Linked DNA regions of Homo sapiens: all the other regions are linked to region 3. The links are contacts of gene promoters, found by promoter capture Hi-C in blood cells and fetal thymus (Javierre and others, 2016). All regions are on one chromosome and are shown on one strand. The core of a region is centred on a gene start or on the middle of the fragment in contact, and the rest is flanking DNA. Distances in the headings are between cores, read along the strand shown.

What was found. The method cuts DNA at HindIII sites, captures the fragments that hold promoters and counts their contacts. A CHiCAGO score of 5 or more calls a contact.
Region 1: a contact is called between a fragment that was not itself captured here and the fragment with the promoter of LINC02086 in region 3, in 1 of 17 cell types (total CD4 T cells). The highest score is 6.4, in total CD4 T cells.
Region 2: a fragment that was not itself captured here is called in contact with the fragment with the promoter of LINC02086 in region 3 in 6 of 17 cell types (naive CD4 T cells, neutrophils, total CD4 T cells and 3 more); the score reaches 8.5 in naive CD4 T cells.
Region 4: the fragment with the promoter of PRR15L here is called in contact with the fragment with the promoter of LINC02086 in region 3 in 1 of 17 cell types (neutrophils); the score reaches 5.5 in neutrophils.

Annotation. Positions count from the first base shown.
Region 1 is chr17:48,078,664-48,084,091 of GRCh38, forward strand. The region is part of intron 1 of CBX1 (chromobox 1); the gene reads right to left. Among named protein-coding and RNA genes, the nearest start is that of CBX1, 20 kb to the right of the region's middle. The HindIII fragment of the contact is 750 bases long and covers 1,894-2,643 here.
Region 2 is chr17:48,011,764-48,016,939 of GRCh38, forward strand. It overlaps LOC124904017 (a long non-coding RNA gene), which reads left to right. Exons shown (of 2, transcript XR_007065826.1): 2 at 330-477. Among named protein-coding and RNA genes, the nearest start is that of MIR10226, 19 kb to the right of the region's middle. RefSeq lists a silencer at 699-748 and enhancers at 3,262-3,763, 3,764-4,263. The HindIII fragment of the contact is 3,187 bases long and covers 1,823-5,009 here.
Region 3 is chr17:48,641,102-48,646,778 of GRCh38, forward strand. It overlaps LINC02086 (long intergenic non-protein coding RNA 2086), which reads left to right and starts at 1,526. Exons shown (of 8, transcript NR_189645.1): 1 at 1,526-5,261. It overlaps LINC03057 (long intergenic non-protein coding RNA 3057), which reads right to left. Exons shown (of 2, transcript NR_186590.1): 1 at 5,504-5,677. RefSeq lists enhancers at 125-1,123, 1,124-2,120, 5,288-5,677, 5,395-5,444 and a silencer at 5,665-5,677. The HindIII fragment of the contact is 12,737 bases long and covers 1-3,680 here.
Region 4 is chr17:47,954,380-47,959,623 of GRCh38, forward strand. PRR15L (proline rich 15 like) reads right to left here and starts at 3,504. Exons shown (of 2, transcript NM_024320.4): 1 at 3,278-3,504. RefSeq lists enhancers at 2,172-3,117, 3,118-4,063. The HindIII fragment of the contact is 8,015 bases long and covers 15-5,244 here.

The DNA of each region.
Region 1 (5,428 bases), core at 1,019-3,518, 560 kb before region 3:
ATTTTTAGAAGAGACGGGGTTTAACCACGTTGGCCAGGCTGGTCTTCAACTCCTGACCTCGTGATTTGCCTGCCTTGGCTTTCCAAAGTGCTGGGATTACAAGCGTGAGCCACCGTGCCTGGACTTTTTTTTTTTTTTTTTTTTTTGAGACGGAGTCTCACTCCAGCCCAGGCTGGAGTGCAGTGGCACAATCTCGGCTCACTGCAACCTCTGCCTCCCGGGTTCAAGTGATTCTCCTGTCTCAGCCTCCTGAGTAGCTGGGACTACAGGTGTGAGCTACCACGCCCGGCTAATTTTTGTATTTTTAGCAGAGACAGGGTTTCACCAACGTTGGTCAAGCTGCCAGGCTGGTCTCAAACTCGTGACTTCGTGATTCACCCGTGCTGGCCTCCCAAAGTGCTGGGATTACAGGCGTGAGCCACCGAACCCAGCTCCAGCCCCGGCCCCGCACCTCCCCCTCTTTGAGATGGAGTCTCACTCCAGCCGGGCTGGAGTGCAGTGGCACAGTCTTGGCTCACTGCAACCTCCGCCACCTGGGTTCAAGTGATTCTTTTGCCTCAGCCTCCTGAGTAGCTGGGACTACAGGTGTGTGCCACCATGCCCAGCTAGTTTTTGTTTTTTTAGTAGAGACAGGGATTCGCCATGTTGGCCAAGCTGGTCTCGAACTCCTGACCTCAAGTGATCCACCCGCCATGGCCTCCCAAAGTGCTGGGATTACAGGCATGAGCCACTGTGCCCAGCCATGTTCTCTTGTTCTTTATGCAGTCTTTTCTGAATTGAACTTACGATTCACAAATTTCTTGTTAACTTATTGTATTTAGTTTATTTTACAACTTTTTTTCTTTTTTGAGACAGTGTCTCACTCTATCACCTAGGATGGAATGCAGTGAAGTAATTATGGCTCATTGCAGCTTTGACCTCCTGGGCTCAAGTGATCCCGCTGCCTCAGTCTCCTGAGTAGCTGGAACCACAGGTGTGCGCCACCATGCCTGGCTAATTTTTTAAATTTTTAGTAGAGACAAGTTCTCAATATGTTGCCCAGGCTTGTTTCAAACTCCCAGGCTCAAGTGATCCTCCCACCTCAGCCTCCTACTGGGATTACAGACATAAGCCATCACACCTGGCCTCCAATTTATTTCTAAAAACTAAGGAAGAGTCATAAAAATGCCAGAATGATCATGAAATTCTCTAAACTGGAACCCTGTAAAAATTTGGAAAACAAGTGTGGGGAAAACAGAACTGTAGTTATCAAAGATAATAGAATCTGAGTTTACTCCTTTATAAAATACATCATCAAGCTAGGTAACATCTAAGGGTTTTTCCAGTGTTGAAATTTTAGTCCCTTATAAATCTATTTTATTTAGTCCTTCATCCAAATTTGACTTTTTTGGGGGAGGGGGACACAGTCTCCCTCTGTCGCCCAGGCTGCAGTGCAATGGTGCTATCTCGGCTCACCTACGCCTCTAGGGTTCAAGTGATTCTCATGCCTCAGCCTCCTGAGTAGCTAGGACTACAGGCACCTGCCACCAGGCCCAGTTGATTTTTGTATATTTAGTAGAGATGGGGTTTCAGCATGTTGGCCAGGCTGGTCTCGAACTCCTGACCTCAAGTGATCTGCCCGTTTTGGTTTCCCAAAACTCTGGAATTAACAGGCATGAGCTACCGTGCCCGGACCCAACTCTTTGACTTCTGACAGACTTAAAGCCTTATGATTACCAATTTTTGTCAGTAGATGGCACTGTATCAATGAAACAAAATTGATCAACAAAACTGGCCAAAGAATTACCTGGATGGCAGGTAATCCAAGACAAGGAAGAGTTACGTCTCCGCTTGAGTTTAAAATAATACCAATTTGAGGTTAAACTGGTTATTCCTAGCATCCTTAGGAAAGGAAGCTTACTTAGTGTAATCATTAAGTTTTCTAAACACTGTAAAACTGGCATGTATAGACAGAATGCACTTAGAGTCCATCTACAAGGCTGGGTGCGGTGGTTCACGCCTGTAATCCCAGCACTTTGGGAGACTGAGGCAGGCAGATCACAAGGTCAGGAGTTCGAGACCAGCTTGGCCAATATGGCGAAACCCCATCTCTACTAAAAGTATAAAAATTAGCTGGGTATGGTGGCGCTCGCCTGTAGTGCCAGCTACTCGGGAGGCTGAGGCAGGAGAATTGCTTGAACCCGGGAGGCGGAGGTTGCAGTGAGCCGAGATCGCGCCACTGCACTCCAGCCTGGTGACAGAGCGAGACTCCATCTCAAAAAAAAAAAAAAAAAAAAAAAAAAAAAAAAATATATATATATATATATATATATATATATATATATATATATAAAATTTGTCTTAGAAAAATAAATAGCATTTCTTTTTGAAAAGTTTAATCTATTTATTTGCTTATTTAGAGACCAGGTTATGAGACTGCCTAATTTTTGTATTTTCGGTAGAGAAGGGTTTTTGCCATGTTGCCAATGCTGGTCTTGAACCCCTGGGCTCAAGCGATCCACCTGCCTTGACCTCCCAAAGTGCTGGGATTACTGGCATGAGATCTGGCCAAAAAATAAAACAGCACTGACTATTATCCACCTGATCCTTCTGCTATGAGCCGAAAGGGTCAGCATAGCTTCTAACTGATCTCTACCTACTGCAAGCTTATCCTCCCTTTATCATTAATTAGCATGGCCTCAGAGAGGAACAGTCATAGAATGGCATAATTGTTAGGTAAAGAAAGCGCCCAAATGGGGAAATCTAAAGTAAAGCATTCTCATGACTTCGATCTTTACTCACTTTTATTTTTTGAGACAGAGTTTCGCTCTTGTCGCCCAGGCTGGAGTGCAATGGAGCACTCTCAGCTCACTGCAACCTTCACCTCCTGAGTTCAAGCGATTCTCCTGTCTCAGCCTCTCAAAGAGCTAGGATTACAGGCGCTCACCACCATGCCCAGCTAATTTTTTTAATACTCTTAGTAGAGACAAGATTTCACCATGTTGGCCAGGCTGGTCTCGAACTCCTGACCTCAGGTGATCTGCCTGCCTCGGCCTCCCAAAGTGCTGGGATTACAGGCCTAAGCCACTGAGCCTGGCCCTTTCCTTACTTTTTAAGTACTGTCTTAAGAGCAACTCAAATAAGAAGAATATAGAAAACAGATCCCCGCTTCTTCCTGAGCTTTCTTTACTGGCTCATCCCAGAGCATCTACATCCAGAGATACTGTATTACTGGAGATTCCCAGCCAGCCTTCCCAACGTGTTTTTTTGTTTACAATTAGTTCTCTAGGGTTTCAAGAAAGCTATTTGTCAAAATCAGTAGAGAGGTCAGGGCTCGGCAGCACACACCTGTAATTCCAGCACTTTGGAAGGCCTAGGCAGAAGGACTGCTTGAGCCCAGGAGTTTGAGACCAGCCTGGGCAACGTAGTGAGACCCCATCTCTACAAAAAATAATCAGCTGGGTGTGCTGGGAGGATCGCTTAAGCACAGGAGGTTGAGGCTGCTGTGAGCTGTGATTGTGCCACTGCACTCCAGCCTGGGTGAGGAAGCAAGACTGTCTTTAAAAAAATGATAAAGAGGCTGGGCGTGGTGGCTCACACCTGTAATCCCAGCACTTTGGGAGGCTGAGGTGGGCAGATCACGAGGTCAGGAGATCGAGCCCATCCTGGCTAACACGGTGAAACCCCATCTCTACTAAAAATACAAAAAATTAGCTGGGTGTGATGGCGGGCACCTGTAATCCCAGCCACTCGGGAGGCTGAGGCAGGAGAATGGCGTGAACTCGGGTAGCGGAGCTTGCAGTGAGCCGAGATCATGCCACTGCACTCCAGCCTGGGGGACAGAGCGAGACTCCATCTCAAAAAAAAAAAAAAAAAAAAAAAAGGAAAAATGATCTATAATTTTATTTATTTTTTTGAGATGGAGTCTCTGTCGCCCAGGCTGGAGTGCAGTGACGCAATATCAGTTCACTGCAACCTCCACCTCCCAGGTTCAAATGATCCTCTTCCTTAGCCTCCCGAGTAGCTGGGACTACAGATGCACACCACCACTCCTGGCTAATTTTTTTGTATTTTTAGTAAAGACGTGGTTTCACCATGTTGGCCAGGCTGGTCTCAAACGCTTGACCTCAAGTAATCCGCCCACCTCAGCCTCCCAAAGTGCTGGGATTACAGGCGTAAGCCACTGTGCCAGGTAATTTTATTTTTTTTTAATGACACAATTATCTTTTTTTTTTTTTTTTGAGACGGAATTTCGCTCTTGTCACCCAGGCTGGAGTGCAACAACGCGATCTCAGCTCACCACCACCTCGGCTTCCCAGGTTCAAGCGATTCTCCTGCCTCAGCCTCCCAAGTAGCTGGGATTATTGGCATGCACCACCATGCCCAGCTAATTTTGTATCTTTAGTAGAGACAGAGTTTCTCCATGTTGGTCAGGCTGGTCTTGAACTCCCAACCTCAGGTGATCTGCCTGCCTCAGCCTCCCAAAGTGCTGGGATTACAGGAATGAGCCACTGCACCTGGCCTAATTTTTATTTATTTATTTATTTTTTAAAGACAGGGTTTCACTATGTCACCCAGGCTGTTCTTGAACTCCTGGACTCCAGTGATCCTCCCGCCTCAGCCTCCCAAAGTGCTGGGATTACATGTGTAAGCCATCATGCCTGGTCAATTACCACTTTGTAAATTCCACCTGCACCCCTATTGTCAGGGGTACCTAGTGGCCTTTCCAGAATCCTGTGACACAAACTGGTTTGTTGTACCTTCTTGGCTCTTCCTAAATCCAGTCCTACTTAATTTTTAGCTTTTTCTGGTCAGTAACTAGTTTTCCAGCTGTTTTCTGACATCTCTACTTGTCTTTTTCCTATTTTTCTTGTCTCTTTAAAAATCTTCTTATTGGCCAGGTGGCGTGGTGGCTCACGCCTGTAATCCCAGTAATTTGGGAGGCCGAGGTGAGCGGATCACTTGAGGTCAGGAGTTCGAGACCAGCCTGACCAACATGGTGATACCCTGTCTCTGCTAAAAATCCAAAAAATTAGCTGGGTGTGGTGGTGGGCGCCTGTAATCCCAGCTACTTGGAAGGCTGAGGCAGGAGAATCGCTGGAACCTGGGAGGCAGAGGTTACAGTGAGCCGAGATTGCGCCATTGCACTCCAGCCTGGGCGACAAAAGCGAAACTCCATCCCCCCTCCAAAAAAAAAATCCTTTGACCATTACTTGTGTGAGATTTTCAAAAGGAGTAGAACCATGTAGTTCAACCAGCCATGTTTATCTGCAAAGTTTCACTGAAGTATCTAATAATAGTGAGTGCTTATTATGTGCCAGGTACTATTACAAACACTTTACTCATTTATTTAAAAAATTTTGTTTAGACACAGGGTGTCGCTCTGTTGCCCAGTACGGTGGCCTGATCATAACTCACTGCAGCCTCGACCTCCTGGGCTCAAGCCATC
Region 2 (5,176 bases), core at 2,166-4,665, 630 kb before region 3:
CTCCAGGGCCCAGAGGGGCAAACTGGGGAGGGGAGGGGAGACTTGTAAACATGAGTGCAATTTTCCTCTGGTTTCCCCAGAAGTTGCCCGTTTCCTGGGCCATTCCTCTCCAGGCAGCCCTCGGGAGTTCCCGCCGCACCGACCCCAGCCAGGCTCCAGCGGTCCCCTCTCTTCCATCCCGCCATCTCTCTGAGGGGCTTGCGTCTCCCTGATGCGCTCTGGTGTCTGTCTGAGCCATCCATCAAGGATGGCAGGCTGGGGGAAACATGAAAAAGAGCCTATTTGGCTATTAACATCCCCTCCCGCTTTGTTGTCTCTCTCCTCCCCAGTCCCCTACCAGCCCCTCACCCAACCCCTCCCTTTTCCCCTTTTGCAGGAGACAAAACCAGACTGACAAGCTGAAGACTCAAACATTAATCAAACTGCGCTCCGGAACAACCTTTCCCTCGCATTAATAAATACATTTGCGGCCCCTCATTGGACAGTTGGCCTAATTTGTTTCTTTTTCGCGGGGTGGGGGGAGCAGCCGCGCCCGCGCCCCCTGGCTCCCAGCAGCCCTGTGCAAAGCAGATGTTCCGCCGCAGACGCGGAGCTGCGCCTAGCCGCGCGCCCCGGAGGCCGCGGTTGCCATGGCGACGGCGGGGCCGCCTGCTGTCGCCGAGCACGCTGTCTCGCCCGCTCAGTGATTACCTCCATCTCCGCAGTGTTCGCCATACGGCCCGGATTCTAATCAGATCCCCTCCCCCCTCCCCCCTCCCTCCTCCGCCCGGCCCACTACCCCTTCAGCTCCCACAGCCTTGGGACTCATTGAGAACTGCCCGCGCATCCCTGACGGTGCCCAGGAAGGCAGAGTGGGGGAGAGACGACCCGCACTCAGCCTGTGTTTAGGGAGGACTGGACCCAGTGCGGTTCGCAAGAGGTTCTGTGTCCCCAGGCCATCTTTGGTGACATTGAACCCCGGGAGTCCAGCTCCCAGCACTGTCCCCTGAAGACTCCTCCTCCTCCCCCTTGGTATGTTGAGGCAGGTCACCTGAGGTCCCCAAGAGAGGTAAGGCAGGCAACCATAGTTCCCCTTCCATCTGGACAAGACTCTTCCATTCCCGTTCTGTAAGTGCTGGGAATGATTTCATCTGCACAGCCTGGAGGTGGGCAGGGTTTCTGGAACCATCAGAGCATCAGCCCAAGCCATGCTTCTTGTGCTAAACGCAGTGGTTTCTCAGACTAAAGGGAGGAGTGGAGAAGCACAGGTCTGGTACTCTAGCCACTCAGGCCTGGCCTGAGTTAGGCCCATGGTTATTTGACCCCCTCCACATCACACACACACTATGCTTTCCATGCTTCCAGGCTGAGGGTGGTTTTTTATAGGTGGTCTCAGATGTACCCCCGGCTGGCAGCCTTGCAAGGGATGCACTGCGAACCCTCTCCGGACTTAGTAATGAACAAGGGGCAGTGCGATGCCTCGGGGCCTTGGGGTACCTGGCTGTCTTTCTGTTAGGGGAGGAGGGTCCTTTCCCTGAGACTCTGAGGCTTCACTATAAGATCCCAAGCATAAACATCCCTGGCTTTAGGAGAAACGAGGTAATAACAGAAGCCAGAGGCAAGAGAGCACAGAGAGGTTGGGAGTGAGGCCGGCAGGGAAGAAGGCAGATTTGGGACAGGAAGATGAGATTCTGGGTTCAGATTCCACCTTCCAGCCTAAATCACAAGGCAGGAAGCCTGAGGTGGTTGGCGTAAAAAATAATTTTGCTCAAGGGGAGGAACCCTTTGGAGTGACGAAAAGTAGAAACACTCATGTTCCAGAAGTGTTACCAATGCCAGGGAAAGCTTGCTTAAACACTCTCACAACATCCCAAATGCCAGCCTCCTTCCAATGTTCGCCGGAAAGTTCTGAGCCGTATTAGCAAATAAGAAGAAATGCCAGGCTGAGCTCTCTCTCCGAGGCTACTAAGAATCCTCATGCTAGAGCTGCAAGGGCCTTTAGAGATCTGGACCGATCCTTCATTTTACAGATGAAAAAACTGAAATCCAGAGAGGAATGACAACTGGCCAAGATCCCACAGCTAGAAATAGTGGAACCAGGTTTTTATTTCTGCAATAGTGGCCACTGTTCTGCCCTCTTTCCTCTCTCAGAGGCAACCAGCTGGGAAACTCTGGTTTCCAAGTCCTCTCTCAGAGGCAACCGGCTGGGAAACTCTGGTTTCCAAGAGGCACAGACAGAATCCCAAAAATCTCAGGCCTTTCCCAGCCCCTAGTCACCCTGCCTCCTGAAGGCCTGTCACCTACCTGAAGGCAGCTCCACTAGAGTGACAGCTCCTGTTGGCCCTGGCTGGCTCAGGGCCTCTGGGGAGGGTATGGGGGGATGGTGGGTTGGGAGAGAACTTTTGTGGGGCCTCCTTCAGTCAATGGTCTACAGCTCTGTCTTTGTCTGTCTGTCACTCAGAAGGGAACTGCTGAAGGGAGAGGTCAGGCTGGTCGGTAGAAAGGGAGAAAGAGGCCTATCCCTGTCAGAGAGGGGTTGGGAAGAAGGCAGGCAAGGGGACCGAAGCTCCTTCAACCTCCTCATCCTCTCCCACTCCAACTCCTGGGCTGTTTCCCCTAGGGAATTCCAGGCTTTGCTCATTTTAGGACCAGGGCAGCAACTGCACACAAAGGCCCTTCTCTTCTTGCCGTGTGAAATCCTGGCTCCCCATTGGAGAGCTACTCCCTTACCCTGCCCTGTCTGCAAGAAGAGGCTGCCAAGGGGTCTAACTCAAACCTACAAGGCAGGGAGTTCCATTGCGTTCCCCTTCCATGCAACCAGCACCCTGACTCCACCCCTGTGCTTGCCCGTGTCCCTGCTCGCGCCTGCCACATCAGATTCCCCAGGCTCCCTCACCCCCCCGTGCAATTTAAAGCAGATTCATCCCCTGAGAGCCCCAGTTTCCAGGCCACCCTAGCTTCTACTGTACACTATCCTATCTCCCCAGATTGTGCTGTTTCCAGTCTCCCCTTGTTCCCTCTGCACACGAATCTTCCTCCCCAGATTCAACTGTTTTCAGGCTACTCCCTCTGTCTGCCCCCTGTACACGACTGTCTCCCCAGATCCTGCTGTTTCTAGGTTCCCCCATATTTCCCCGGTATACAAATTGGCCTCCCTGGATTCAGCAGTTTCCAGAAGCCCCTTGCTCTCTCACTAGGCAGTTCCATCTCCCCAGATTCAGCTGTTTTCAGGCTCCCTTCATTTGCCCTGTACACAGGTACCCCTCCCAGGTTCTGCTGTTTCTAGGCTTCCCGATTTCCCTTGTATACGCATCAGTTTCTAGCTTATGTTGATCCCAGCTGCCTAAGGGATTCAGCAGGTTTAGGGAGAGTGGAAGGAAGAAGAGAGTCAGAAAGAGGAGGAGAAGAAAGATGGTCATCAGGGAAGCTCCGGATTTCTCTTGTGACCCTAAGCAGCTTGCATATGACAGCCTCTGGGCCTCTGCCTCTACAAATAGGTCCCTTAAGGCCATCTGCCCTGGGATACCCCAATCCCCTCCCCATTGCTGCTGCCCAGGATCTGAGCTTTAAGTTGGACATCCTCCGGAGGGCCCCCGTCTTGGCAGGAGTGCTTATGCTTGCATGAGGTGGGACAGGCAAGAGCCTTCCCAAGCCAGGAGTTCCCTTGTCTCTCCTCTGCTATTTCCTTCTTGCCTTCCCAGCACCCACGCCCGCCCCCTTTTTTTTTTCTTTTTGAGTTGGAGTTTCACTGTGTCGCCCAGGCTGGAGTGTAGTGGCGTGATCTCGGCTCGCTACAACCTCTGCCTCATGGGCTCAAGCAACAATCCTGCCTCCGCCTCCGGAGTAGCTGGGACTACAGGCGTGTGCCACCATGCCTAGCTAATTTTTGTATTTTTAGTAGAGACAAGGTTTCACCATGTTGGCCAGGCTGGTGAACTCCTGACCGCAGGTGATCCACCTGCCTTGGCCTCCCAAAGTGGTGGGATTACAGGCGTGAGCCACTGTGCCCACCCCCACCCCTTGTCTCTTTCTCATGTGTTGCACCTTAGCTCTCCTCAATTTATCCACATACAATTTATTTTATTTTATTTATTTATTATTTTTTTTTTGAGATGGAGTCACAAAGTGCTGGGATTATAGGCGTGAGCCACCACGCCTGGCCTTTTGTTTTATTTTTGAAACAGTCTTACTCTGTCGCCCAGGCTGGAGAGCAGTGGCATCATCTCATCTCACTGCAACCTCTGACTCTGGGGTTCAAGTGATTCTCCTCCTTCAGCATCCTGTATCCACATAGAATTTAAAGGAAACTCCAAATGCACTCCCAGAACTAAAGGGAGTACAGAACTAAAGAGTCACACTTTTTTTTTTTTTTTTTTTTTTTTTTTTTTCAGTTTTCAAGATGGAGTAGTATCAATCTCAGGCCCTGGAAACTGCCCCTGGACTAGTTTCCTGGCATGCTTCTCCAGCCTTTGTAAACAACTGTTTCATCTGCAGACTCCCTGCATCCTAATCCTCCTTGGGGCTGGAGGTGGGAGGGTATGGGAAGTGTTCTGCAAGGTACTCCAGTCTTCTTATCTTCTCTGACTCATTTAGCTACTGCCTGCAAAGTTTCCACTGGAATCTGGGGAAATGGTCTGATCCCTCATCGCCTTCCTCCATATACAGCTGCCTACCCATTAGACTAATCCCAGCCATTTGTCAGTCACGATGCTCCATCATACTGGCCCCAGCAAACTTTCTGGTTTCACTAAGAAATAAATAGGAAGGGCAGGCCCACTGGGTCCAGGATAGTGCCCTACAAGGAGACCTTTCTTCAAAATGAAATCCATACCTGGGTTCAGGCCGCATTGCTTCTGCTCCCAGCACCCGAGAGCATCCTCAATCACCTCACAAGTGGGAATGACAACGCCTGCCTCCTTCACTGAGATAGAGGTACAAAAAAATTACATGTGTGAAAGAAATAGAATACTTTTACGGATCCTGACAAATGTGAGTTTACATAAATCCTATTAAAAGAACATTGTGCAAGAAGCTTTTCTGTGTCTTGTATATAAATTATCCTCAGAAAAGAAGTGCAGCTGATGGGACTCACTTATTAATTTCATTATTTAAAAAACAGACGTGCTGGGCGTGGTGGCTTATGTCGGTAATCCCAGCACTTTGGGAGGCCAAGGCGGGAGGATCACTTGAGGTCAGG
Region 3 (5,677 bases), core at 276-2,775:
AACAGATACTGTCACCTGGACTTCTTGGAACACCAGGAACCAGGTCACAGGTGCTGGGGACTCTTAGACTGAGACCAGTCAGGCCACAACACCCAATCACTACCTCCTCCATATTTGCCTGTGCAGACAAGGAGTATGCAAGGTCTCTGTGTCTCTAATTAAATTAATATGGAGCTTTTATCCACTGGGGCCTGGACCTTCCGCCATTTGTCACCTTGTCCAAAGCTATCTCATACCGAAAGAGAATTGAACGTTTCAGGAAACACTTCCCCTTTGCAAATGCCCTTCTCTTGGGGAATGGGTATAGTGTCCAAATCTCCAGCTCCCACCATTTCTAGCCAGCCCTGAGGAATTGTCTGAGACCCGGGAGCCCAGAGATCATCAGCGGGGGCCAACAGCCATGACCTTTGAGTTTTCTTGGCCGCTGGGCCACAGAAAGGGTGCAAGAGGCAGCTGGACAGGTAGACAGAAGTAGGCACAAAGAAAGGGGCCCTGGACGGTTGCCAGAGAAAAGACGGAGAATGACAAAGAGAGAAGTGAAATAGCTGGACTGGAGGCGGGAACTGGAGCGCAGCAGGCAGGTGGAGTGGCCAAAACCCGCGTGCTAAGAAGAGCCCACAGGGGCGGCAGGGGCGGCAGGGGCGGCAGAGGCGGCCAGGCGCGTCTCCGTTCCCCATCTTTACGGGGAGGTTAATGACCTCCTCAGCGCCCCCTCGTCCCAAACCACCCAATTACAACTCCTCAGGCTCCTTAATGATCTGATTAATTGGTTGGTTAGGGCGGATGGAGGTGCTTCTCTGCCGGGGACCTGGCGGGGTTTCGCTAGATCATTTGTTAATTGTGGGAAGGAAGGACGCATCCGGGGAGAGGAGATCCAGGGCTGGAAAAGTGGGTGAGCGGCGCTGGCGCAGGCGGCCAGGAGAGAGCAGATGAACCGTTCGTTAGGAGCAGCGAGGTAGTCGTGAGCGCTGAGATCCAGAGACTAGGACCCACTCCCTCTCTGAGCAGCAAATTGGGAAGAAGATGCTCACTCGGTAAGGGCGAGGGAGCCCGGCATGGCGCCCCACCACGGGCTCGGTCTATCTGCGCGCCAAGATCCCGCTTGGGGCGAGGCGTTGGGTCAGCGTTTAGAGCCACTCCCTGCGCTGGTGGCTGGACATAGCCTCCCTATCCCACCTCATCTTCCCCCATCCCCGACAGAGGAGGTTGTGAATCTACAGGCCCTTGACGTTGAGGCGTCGGAGGGCGCACCTTTGTAATTGCGGCCTCCCTTCGCCCCTTAAGTGCCGCTTCTGGGCGCCTAGGCTGGATATGAAAGCCCCGTTCCTAATCCTCTGCTCTGGTCCCCTCCTCTGGACTGCTGGGACTCTAAGCTAGGCCCTCCCCAGGTTCCATCACTGCGGCGCCAACCCGCGGCTGGGCTGTCCGCAAGAGGGAGTTGAAGGCGCGCGGAATCCCGAGGTGCAGCTGACCCTCCTCTCAACGCCGACTCTGCCGCTCCCGCCCGGCCACCTCCCTGTCGGGCAGACTTCCTGTTCTCCTGCTCACAGCAGGGAGGCAGTCGCCGAGCCGGTCAGCAGCGTGCACGGAGATCTTCACTCTGCGCCCAGCCCCGGGACACAGGTGCAGATCTCCAGCGGAGCACTGCGGAGTGCGCGCCGTCGAGCACTAGGGAATCCTAGACGGAGGACTTGGTCCATTCCACGCAGTCCCAGGCAGGTCCGCAGCGGAGGGACGCAGCGGTCTCCAACTCCTGGTCACGACTTCGGCGACCCTCCACCCCCTGAGAGACCTGGTCCCACGGAGCTGTCCCCCCAGGAGCCGCAGCGGGAATAGCAAAGCAAAGGGGACCACTCAGCCCCCAGGAGGAGCCCTGAAGCAAAAAGGTTGCTGCGGGGAGCCACGTTCCCTCTGGTTCACCTCGAAGCCCAGGAGCTCCGGTCCCTGGACCAAGGAGTGAACAGACCTGAGGAAGAGGTAAGAGGAGGTTTAACGAGTAAAAATTTGGACTCTCTCCTCTTATACTGCTTTAAAGCATGAGGAATTTGGGCCCTGACTTCTCTCTCCTTGAAGAAGTTTCTCGCGTTCTGGCCAGTCCTTGCGTGTCTGCACCCAGGGCCGGCAACAATTTAAGGAGGAACTTTACTGGGTGGTCGAGGCTTGAGAGTTCATAGTTACCTTTTAAAAAAATCATTACTATTACTTAATATCTAGGTTATTTTGGACTGAGCCCCCATCTTCGCTCCAGCCCAAATTCGGCCTTTAACAGTACTAGGGAGTGCTTCAAAAGAGGAGGGTCGTGGAGGAAGCGACTCAGACGGCCCCAAGAGGAGAGATGGGAAGGAGTGAGGGCTTTGGCCTTAATGATCTCTGCAAGTTAAAGGCCATTATTCCTATAACTACAGCTGGGGAAAGGGCAGAGGAGGTAAGGACGGAAAGTGGGCTGAGGGTGGCCACTTTGGCATCTTCTTGAGAAAGGAGACATTTGAATTCCCGGCCCAACTAAAAGCCCTGAGATGCTTGCCCTTTGCTTTACAGACAGTGATGGCAAAGAAATACTGCCACCAGGGTGTTTTTAAAGGTGAAGGTTGACCTGATAAGCACTGAGATCAGACAAAGGAAAAAAAAAGTAAAGCATTTGGTCTTTCAGTTTTCTGGCTAAATCTGGCATCATTTTCCAGACACAAACTTCTCTGATTAATCCAAATAGCTCTCAACCTGAAGTTCAAGGAATTTGAAATCCTCTGAAATTGTGGGATTTCACAGTTCTAAAAGGAAGTCAGCTGTCACTTTCTGAGAAGCCCTGGGAGGGGAAGGAAGCAAGAGGAGGTATATGAGGAAAGGGGGTGAGAGGCCCCAGATCTAGCTCTCTAGACATTTAGTGCTGGACCCCCAAGCTCTGAAACTCAAGCTGACCCCATCTACACATTGCCAAACTGAGTAGAAAGTTGCAAGGCAGTCAAGGAGATAAATTTTATTTACTGCTTTAAGGATGAGTTTGGGTGTCTAAGCAGATTATAAATCTGGGTGTTTTCAGTATTTGTTTCTTTCTTTCAACTATTACTGATTTTTGGCCCAGAGTAGTTTCTGGGGCCCTTGGGGCAGTTAGGCAAGAGAGGGACTCAGACCTCCAGTCCCTTGATCTTGCCTTTACTTGGTGAAGAGCCCAAGATTCTCTACTGGCAGGCAAGGTCAGAACCAAGTTGGCCCTAGGCCTTGCCCCAACCCCCCAGCCCTCAGGACTCCTTTCTCTGAGACCAGGCCTCTGGCCAAACTGCAGACTCCCTCCACACCCGGTCACTGGAATAATGATGGCATTTTTGATTTCTCCCATTTTTGAAAACTATAGAAGCCCCAAGGAGGAAGGAGGTACCACTGGATCTTGGGGTGCTGGTGGGGGATTCTGGAATCAAATATCCTCTAAGCCTGTGAGGACAAGGTCTACTAGGATGACTTGGTGTCAATTACAGCTCTGAGTGCTGCCTGGATAGGTCAAATATTCCCTCCTTTCCCTCCTCATTCCTTCCGTTCAAGCCCAGAAAATTCACAGATTTTCTGTGTGGAGAGAGAGAAAAAAAATGGGCAAAACCTGGGAGTAAAAGGGAGATGAGGGAGAAGAAAATGAGGGAGAGAAACCAATAGACTAAAACAATGAAACTCTCTAACCCAACAGCACTTTAAGCTTGACTTTTAATCTGGCCAGAAAAAAAAAGAAGTTGGAGGCAGGGTGGGTGGGATGTGAAGTTCCCAGCCCAACAGATCCTCCTGTTGTCACGGGCTCTGTGCGTTCCCAGCTGGTGAGAACCCTGTCTGTCCTGGGGGTGGGAGGGATGTCCTGGGTCTTTCAAGTTGCAGTGTGGGGAGTGAGGCTCTTTCTAAGGGTCTCTGAGGTCTCCCACAACACCTTGCTTGGACTAGCAAAACCTTTCTTTGCATTTCCTCTGGGGCACTGTGTATGTGTATCCCTGTGTAGGGTGGTGTTCTAAACCACCGCAGAAGGTGAGCAATTCTCCTCCCAGCGAGCCAAAGGCTATATGTTTGGGGTGGAGGAGGCTTCATCCCTTCTGGACTGGAGAAATGGGGACTTGGAGCCAAGTGCGCCAGACTTTAGGGAAAGAGAGGAGCTCCAGCTCCAAAAGGGATTTGGAGGGAAGATCCTATCAGGAAAGGCCCCCCAGACTTGCTTCCTCAAAGGGTTAGGGAAGTGCACTGAGAAAAGAGAACTTTCACTTAACTCTTCTCCATTAGGCATCTTTGTGCTTCCATTTGTACTGGAAAGCACAGTCCTGGGCAGTCAGTTGCACATTCCGCCTCTGGTATGTGGACTATGTGAAATATACCATGCAATGTTCTACTTTGCGAGGGGGGAGGCATATAGATGAAAATATGAATTTCCCTTCTACTGCCTTTATTATTGAGCACAGTTGGGAGCACATAATTTCACATCTCTTTCGCATGTCTGTATAAATCCTCAATCTTTAAACGGTGCTTGACTACTCCGAGAGGCACAGTTGCTGTCATATAAGATTCCTAGCCGACTCCGGCGAGTTACTAATTCCTCTCAGACTCCACAATACCCACGATGCACGATGCACACCCCTTTATGCTTGCTTTTCTTTACATGCCTTTTCAAAGGCGAATAATTTTTGTATTGACCCATGAGTCAGTCCATACAGTTTGAAATCCTTTGGATGCCCTCTGCCCACTCCCATAAACAACAGGTCCCTCCACAAAAATGCACATGCCCCGTTTTTGTGAGTGTGGGTTTCAAATAAGATGGCGTCTCCTGGCATTCCTTAGATTCAGATACACGCTCTCTCAGGCAGGAGGCTGCTCACAGTCCAGAGGGGAAGAAAACCTATGAGGCCCCCAAAAGCCAAAGCAAGAGACTCCCCCAAGTATTCTGCCCCCTCCACGCCAGGAGGCAGCTAGAGAGACAGCGCGCGGGAGAGCTGATTCTGCACCTTGGGGAGCTGGGGGCTTCTGTCTAGACCAAGAGTTCCAGGCCAATTCCTAATTTCCGTTAGGAAAAGTGGCCCTTCTTCCATCCCAAGCGATTCCTCACCCCCAAGGCTGCTCAGGGCGTCTGGCCCTTGCCTCTCTCACGGCATCCGCCTGGAATCCGGGGTTGTGAGCAGGAGGCCCAGGACGCAGGGCCTCAGGCTGGGCGGGGCACTGAGCACTCGGCTCTGGGGAGCCAGGGTTTCCGGTAGAACGAGGGGAGGCGACCCCCTTTCCCCACACACACACCTGTTGGAGAGGTAGGGTCGGGTGCCAGCGGACAGGGAGGCCAAGGCGTTTTCGGGTGCGCCCCGAGGCCCTACCCGGGAAGCTGCCTCGGTCTGGAGATCAAGGTTAAGCCGGTGGCCCCGGGAAGCCCACGCCTGCCACGGGCGGTTGGTCCTGAAAGCTCGGGCCACGGGGCTGCCCAGCTTGGAGAGGGGCCTTTCACGCCGCAGTCCCCAGCTGCGAGAGGAAGGGCTGCGCCCGCCTCCTCACCTACCTCTCGGAACCACGCCGTCCCCCGCGCGTCTTCGTAGACTGCAGGAGTCCAGGGCGTCTGGGGACTGTGACGGCGCCCAAGGCGGGGGATGTGGCGGCTCTGGGTCGCCGCCTTCTGCCCCCGCCTCTGTGAGGCCTCTCGAGGCAGTGTCTGTGTCTGGGGCAGCGACGCCGA
Region 4 (5,244 bases), core at 2,254-4,753, 680 kb before region 3:
CCCTTTCCCCACCAAGCTTCCACAAGGACAGGAGTTGGAAGGGGAGCTAAAAAGGCAGAAAGCAGTTAGAAGGATCCCAGAAGTACAGGGGAGACATGGTCATCACAGGTTGTACCTTGCAGGGTGGGGCTTGGGGCTGAAATCCAGGCTTCTCCACTCACAGGCCATGTGTCCTGCCATGGAGCTGCCTTCCCTGGGGGCTCACCTTTGACTAATTTCCACAAAGGTACTATATGAGCTAGCGGAACTTCTCGGAGAGGAGGTTGCCTGGACATCATTGATTGCTGGGGTATGTAAGATAGAAGCAGATGACAGTCTGCTAGATGAAGGAAGATCAATGACAGAACAGGTAGAGGAACACTGATGACTGGTGAGGTCGGTGGTCTTGTTCTCAGGATGCCTAGCTGCCGGCTGTGAAAGCTCCCAGGAAGGAAGGCGCAGCCAGTGTACACCAGAAAGCTAGAGGGTATCACCTCCTTTTAAAAACTGGAAGTGTTCACTCCATTTTTGAAAAAGACCAGAAAGACACTCCAAATGATGTGCCTTTTTTTTTTCTTTTTTTTTTTTTTGAGACAGAGTCTTGCTTATTGCCCAGGCTGGAGTAAAATGGCATGATCTCGGCTCACCACAACCTCCACCTCCCAGGTTCAAGCGATTCTCCTGCTTCAGCCTCCCGAGGAGCTGGGATTACAGGCATGCGCCACCACGCCCGGCTAATTTTGTATTTTTAGTAGAGACGGGGTTTCTCCATGTTGGTCAGGCTGGTCTCGAACTCCTGACCTCAGGTGATCCACCCACCTCGGCCTCCCAAAGTGCTGGGATTACAGGCATGAGCCACTGTGCCCAGCCCAATAGTGCCTTTCTTTATGTAGGAGTAGAGGATGCTTTCTCTTCTCTAGTTTTCTGATTTCTGGAATTTCCATGATGAGTATAGATTATTTTAGGGGTGGGGGAGCATATCAAATTTAGGAAAGAGGAGAGCACGACGCAGGCCTAGACTTTACGATGAGCTGAATGCCTGCATCCATACCCCTCGTGCTCTGGTCTCCTGCTCCCCACCCCCTCCCTCAGAGCACACAGCCGGTGGATTCCTTCCCACCTCTCTGTCTGGGAAGCAGCTCCCACATTGCCAGCTCTGTCCCTTTAGCTGGGCTCAAGTAGCAAGAGAAGCTGAGGGGAGATCTTGTGCAGCTCCCGCTCAGAAAGTGAAGGAGCAGTGAGAGGGGCTCCATAAATACTTCCAGGGCACCCTGGAGAGGTGAGCACACCTAGGGACAGCCTGAGAGGTTTGTTTTGGCAGCTTGCCCCACCTGGGCTTAGCACAGCCTTGTACAGAACTTAGTGTTCCAGAATGGGTTTCTGGAAGGAGGTGGGGGAGAGCAGAGAAGGAGGAACAGGGCACTTGCTTGGTCTGTGGGTGCCCGAGTCACTGCCTTGTCTGGAATGAGGCCCACAGCCCCACCACTGCCCATTTGGGGCTGCCAAGGAACTTGGGGAATGGAAAAACAGAAGATCCAGCTCCTGAGACTATCATAACCACCAGATTTTCTAGCTCCAGAGAGAAAAGGGCTTCTGCCTGTGCCATTAAAATTCACCTGTTTTAACAGGTATTTCAAGTTGGCAAACCTGGGGCTTAACTCTCCTTGGCATAAAGGGAGCCACAGATCACGAGGAACTTCTCAGCAAACTGTAGAGATGGGAACAGCCCTTGTGCCCTGCCCTGGGGCCTCCACCAAGGCATCAACTCTGGTGCCCTTGCATCCTAGCCTTGTACTCTGGTCTCTCTAGAATACTCTGCCAGAGGCCAGGTGCAGTGGCTCAAACTATAATCCCAGCACTTTGGGAGGCTGAGGCAGGAGGATTGCTTGAGGCCAGGAGTTCAAGACCAGCCTGACCAACATGGGGGAACCCCATCTCTACTAAAAACACAAAAACACAAAAAATTAGGCGGATGTTGTGTCATATGCCTGTAGTCCCAGCTACTCGGGAGGCTGAGGCACGAGAATCCCTTGAACCCAGGAGGCAGAGGTTGCAGTGAGCTGAGATCATGCCACTGCATTCCAGCCTGGGCGACACAGTGAGACTCTTTTCTCAAAAAACAACAACAACAAAAAAAGAGAATACCCTTTTTGCCAGGCCTTCCTGTCTCTTCTGCCCAGGAGGACATGTGGGGACCAGTAAGCAGGTGTTTGCCCCATTAGCAAGCCTGACTTATGGAAATCTGAGTTTGCAAAATGGAAAAATTAGCCGACTATTCTTTGTTTTACAAAATAACCCAGCTGTAGGATCTGTAAATAGTCATCATAAAAGATAGTGTAAAATCTGATTTGCTTTAAAAACAAGCAAACAAAAAAGGTGATGTGATATCCAAACTTCCCAGTTTCTCAAAGTTGCAAAGAACAAGATATCTACAACCGCCTGCCTGTGCCTCACCACAGAGGGCTGAAAGGGGTTGGGGGAGTGGGGGCAGGTGCTTGGGACTTCAAACAGACCCAGCATTTAGTGACACATGGTGGGCCCTGCAGTTAGCTCGTGCAGGTTCCTGAGCTGGCCGAGCTAAGGGCTGGGCCCTTGCCCTGGGGCCTTGCAATCCAGGGATGATGGAAATCAGCCCCTGAGGATGCCAGCTTCACCTCTGCTGTTTGCACAGCTTTGGGGCCATGAAAGGCCTCATGGGACAGCCTGCCACCCCCTGTCTTTGGTGGCCAGCGCTATAGCATGCACATGGGTGTCCCAGGAGAGGCCCCTCCATACCAGCTGGGTTCTGTGAGCTGCTCTGAAGGGCTTTGCCCAGACTGAGCCAGGCCCCTCCTGAGCTGGGTCAAGTTAACCATTGACTGGGGCAGAGGTGGAGGGGCAGGGGGACAGATAGGGGAAGCAAGTCAGCTAATATGTTGTAAGACAAAACCCCAGAACTCCCTCCCCCATCCCTCTGCAGGGCCCCAATGGCACTTAGGGGGCCTGCAGGATGAGACAGGGGTACCCTGGATAGGAATGGGGAGATGTTCCTACCAGACAGCTGGAAAAATGCTCCAGACTGGGGGGTCAGAAGGGTGGGCTCCAGTTCAGCAAGGGTTAACAGAAAACTACTCAGCAGGAGCTCTGTTGGAGGCCTGGATTGACTCCAAGAGGCCAGTGGGATGAGTCTTGAGTGGAGACCAGGTTAGAGGCCTGGGTTCCTCTTTCCTGCTGGGCTTGTCAGCCCTGGAGGCAGAACCAGGTGCTCTGACTGGGGTCTATGCCTTGGTTTCCCCACCCACCAGCCCTCTGCCTGTACCTGTAATCCCGACTGCTCCAGGCTGGAGGTGAGACCTTTCCTAGAGAAGCAGTTGAGTGTAGGAGCTGCCTGGGAGGGTGAGACTCGGGAAGCAAGTGGTGCCTCCGGGCTGCTGTATCAGGCAAGGCTCAGCCAGGAGAGGTGGGTAGGAGCAGCTGCACGTCAGGTGCAAGAGAAACAGGTGCAAGAGCTGTTACCTGCTCTGCTGCAGCTCCTGGAGTCAAGGTGAACCTGAAACCCAGCCCCTCCCGGCTAAGTAAACAGAAGCAGAGGCCGGCTCAAGCTGATGAATATTCATCATGCCAGAAATCCAATCCCAGCGCCCCTGCATCCACCCAGAAGCCAGGGTTCTCCAGGGACCGCCACGCAGGAGGAGGGAATCCCAAGGGAGATCTGGGGTCAGGGAGCACAGGAGGCTCTCGCTCAGTTTCCCCACTCTTGGGTGTCTGGTTGCACTTCCCAGCTATAGCCAGGGTCACCCCACCCATTTCATCTTCTGAGGAGGCGCAGACCCCTCTCCAGCATGGACCACCACCTGGATGTTGCCCAGGGCACAACCAGGAAAGAGTTAAGGGCTGCTGCTTCCATTGGCAGGCTGGGTAGGACGGGGTGCACCCCAGCTTCCTTTGAACTCCCTGAGTCGAAACCAGTCCCGGTTAAACTGGTTGGCAGACCGGTTCCCAGGCTGTCCCTCCCCTGCCTCAAGCCTCAAAGTGGGGACTGGGTTGGGGGCTGTGGCTTCCTCCTGACCTGAAGAGCCCCTCTTCAAAAATCTCCCTAGGGAGAAAAAAAAAAAGGGCACAGCCTCTCCTCGGGCCAGGCTCTCCAGACCCACCACAACCTCAAACATTGTCATCCCTCTCCCACTTTGCTTGGAGGTGGGCTTCAAGGCCCTTGAGATCTTATGCAGAATTCCGTGTTTGTGGGCAGAGGGGCATTGCTTTTTCTGCATAGATTATACTTTTATCAGACTCTCAAAGAGACCTGTGCCAGTGTCCCCACTAGCAAAGTGCCACTGGCTTCAACTCCTCCCAGATGTCCAGCAGTCTATTGAAAGGGCCTTCCTGGGTATTATAAAGTTGGCAAAACCTGGAGCAAGTTCTCAAGGAAAGGAGAGATGGGTCCCTAGTGAGTCTGGAAGAGAAGGAAGGGCAAGAAGGCAGGGGATGGGCACACGGTTGGGGACAGGGGTAGAGTGTGTGTGCACAGGGGCCTTCGTCCTCACCGATCTGCAGTCTCATTGCCCCTGCAAACCCACCATTGGCCAAGCTGTGTGCAGCGCTCAGCCAGGGCTGCTCTTGCAGATGGCTCCGTGTCTGGGGAGCGTTGTTTTGCAGCCACCCGGAGGTGGCCTGTCCTATTTGCGCTTGCATTCTCTCTCCCCTCGGATGGGCATCGCTGGAGAGTGGAAAACATCTGCTACATACTCAGTGTCTCTGCCACTTCCTGGGCCCAGTGCTACCAGCTTAGGTGCCCAATCCACCCACCAGCTACCTTCCTCCATGGACCAGGTGTGCGTGTCAGGCAAAGGGTGAGGCACGGGGTAGAGAAAAGGCATAAAATCCCCCCTTTCCCTGGCTCTCCCTCTAAGTTACATTTGAAATCCCAGCTCACCAACTCTTAAAGCTGTCCCCCATTTCCAATCCTGCTTCTACTCGCTCCAGCTTCTGATGGCCTCTTGGGTTTGTATTCTCCTCCATCTGAAATAGCCCCCCTTCCCTTAAAATGTCCTTGGGTGGACAGTCCTCCAAAGCCTCCCCACAGCCCACAGCAGAACCCGCTTGGCCTGGCTCTCCTAGGATGGGGCCTCTGCAGCCTCCTCTCATGCACACCCACCCCTGCCAACTCTCCCTGAACACTAGGCTCTTCTCTGCCTGCCTTTGTAGGCATGAGGCTGCCTTAGAAGGGTGAGATTAGGAGTGCTGGCTGTGCTCTTGGGTAACAATGTCCCCCCCATCACCTGTGCG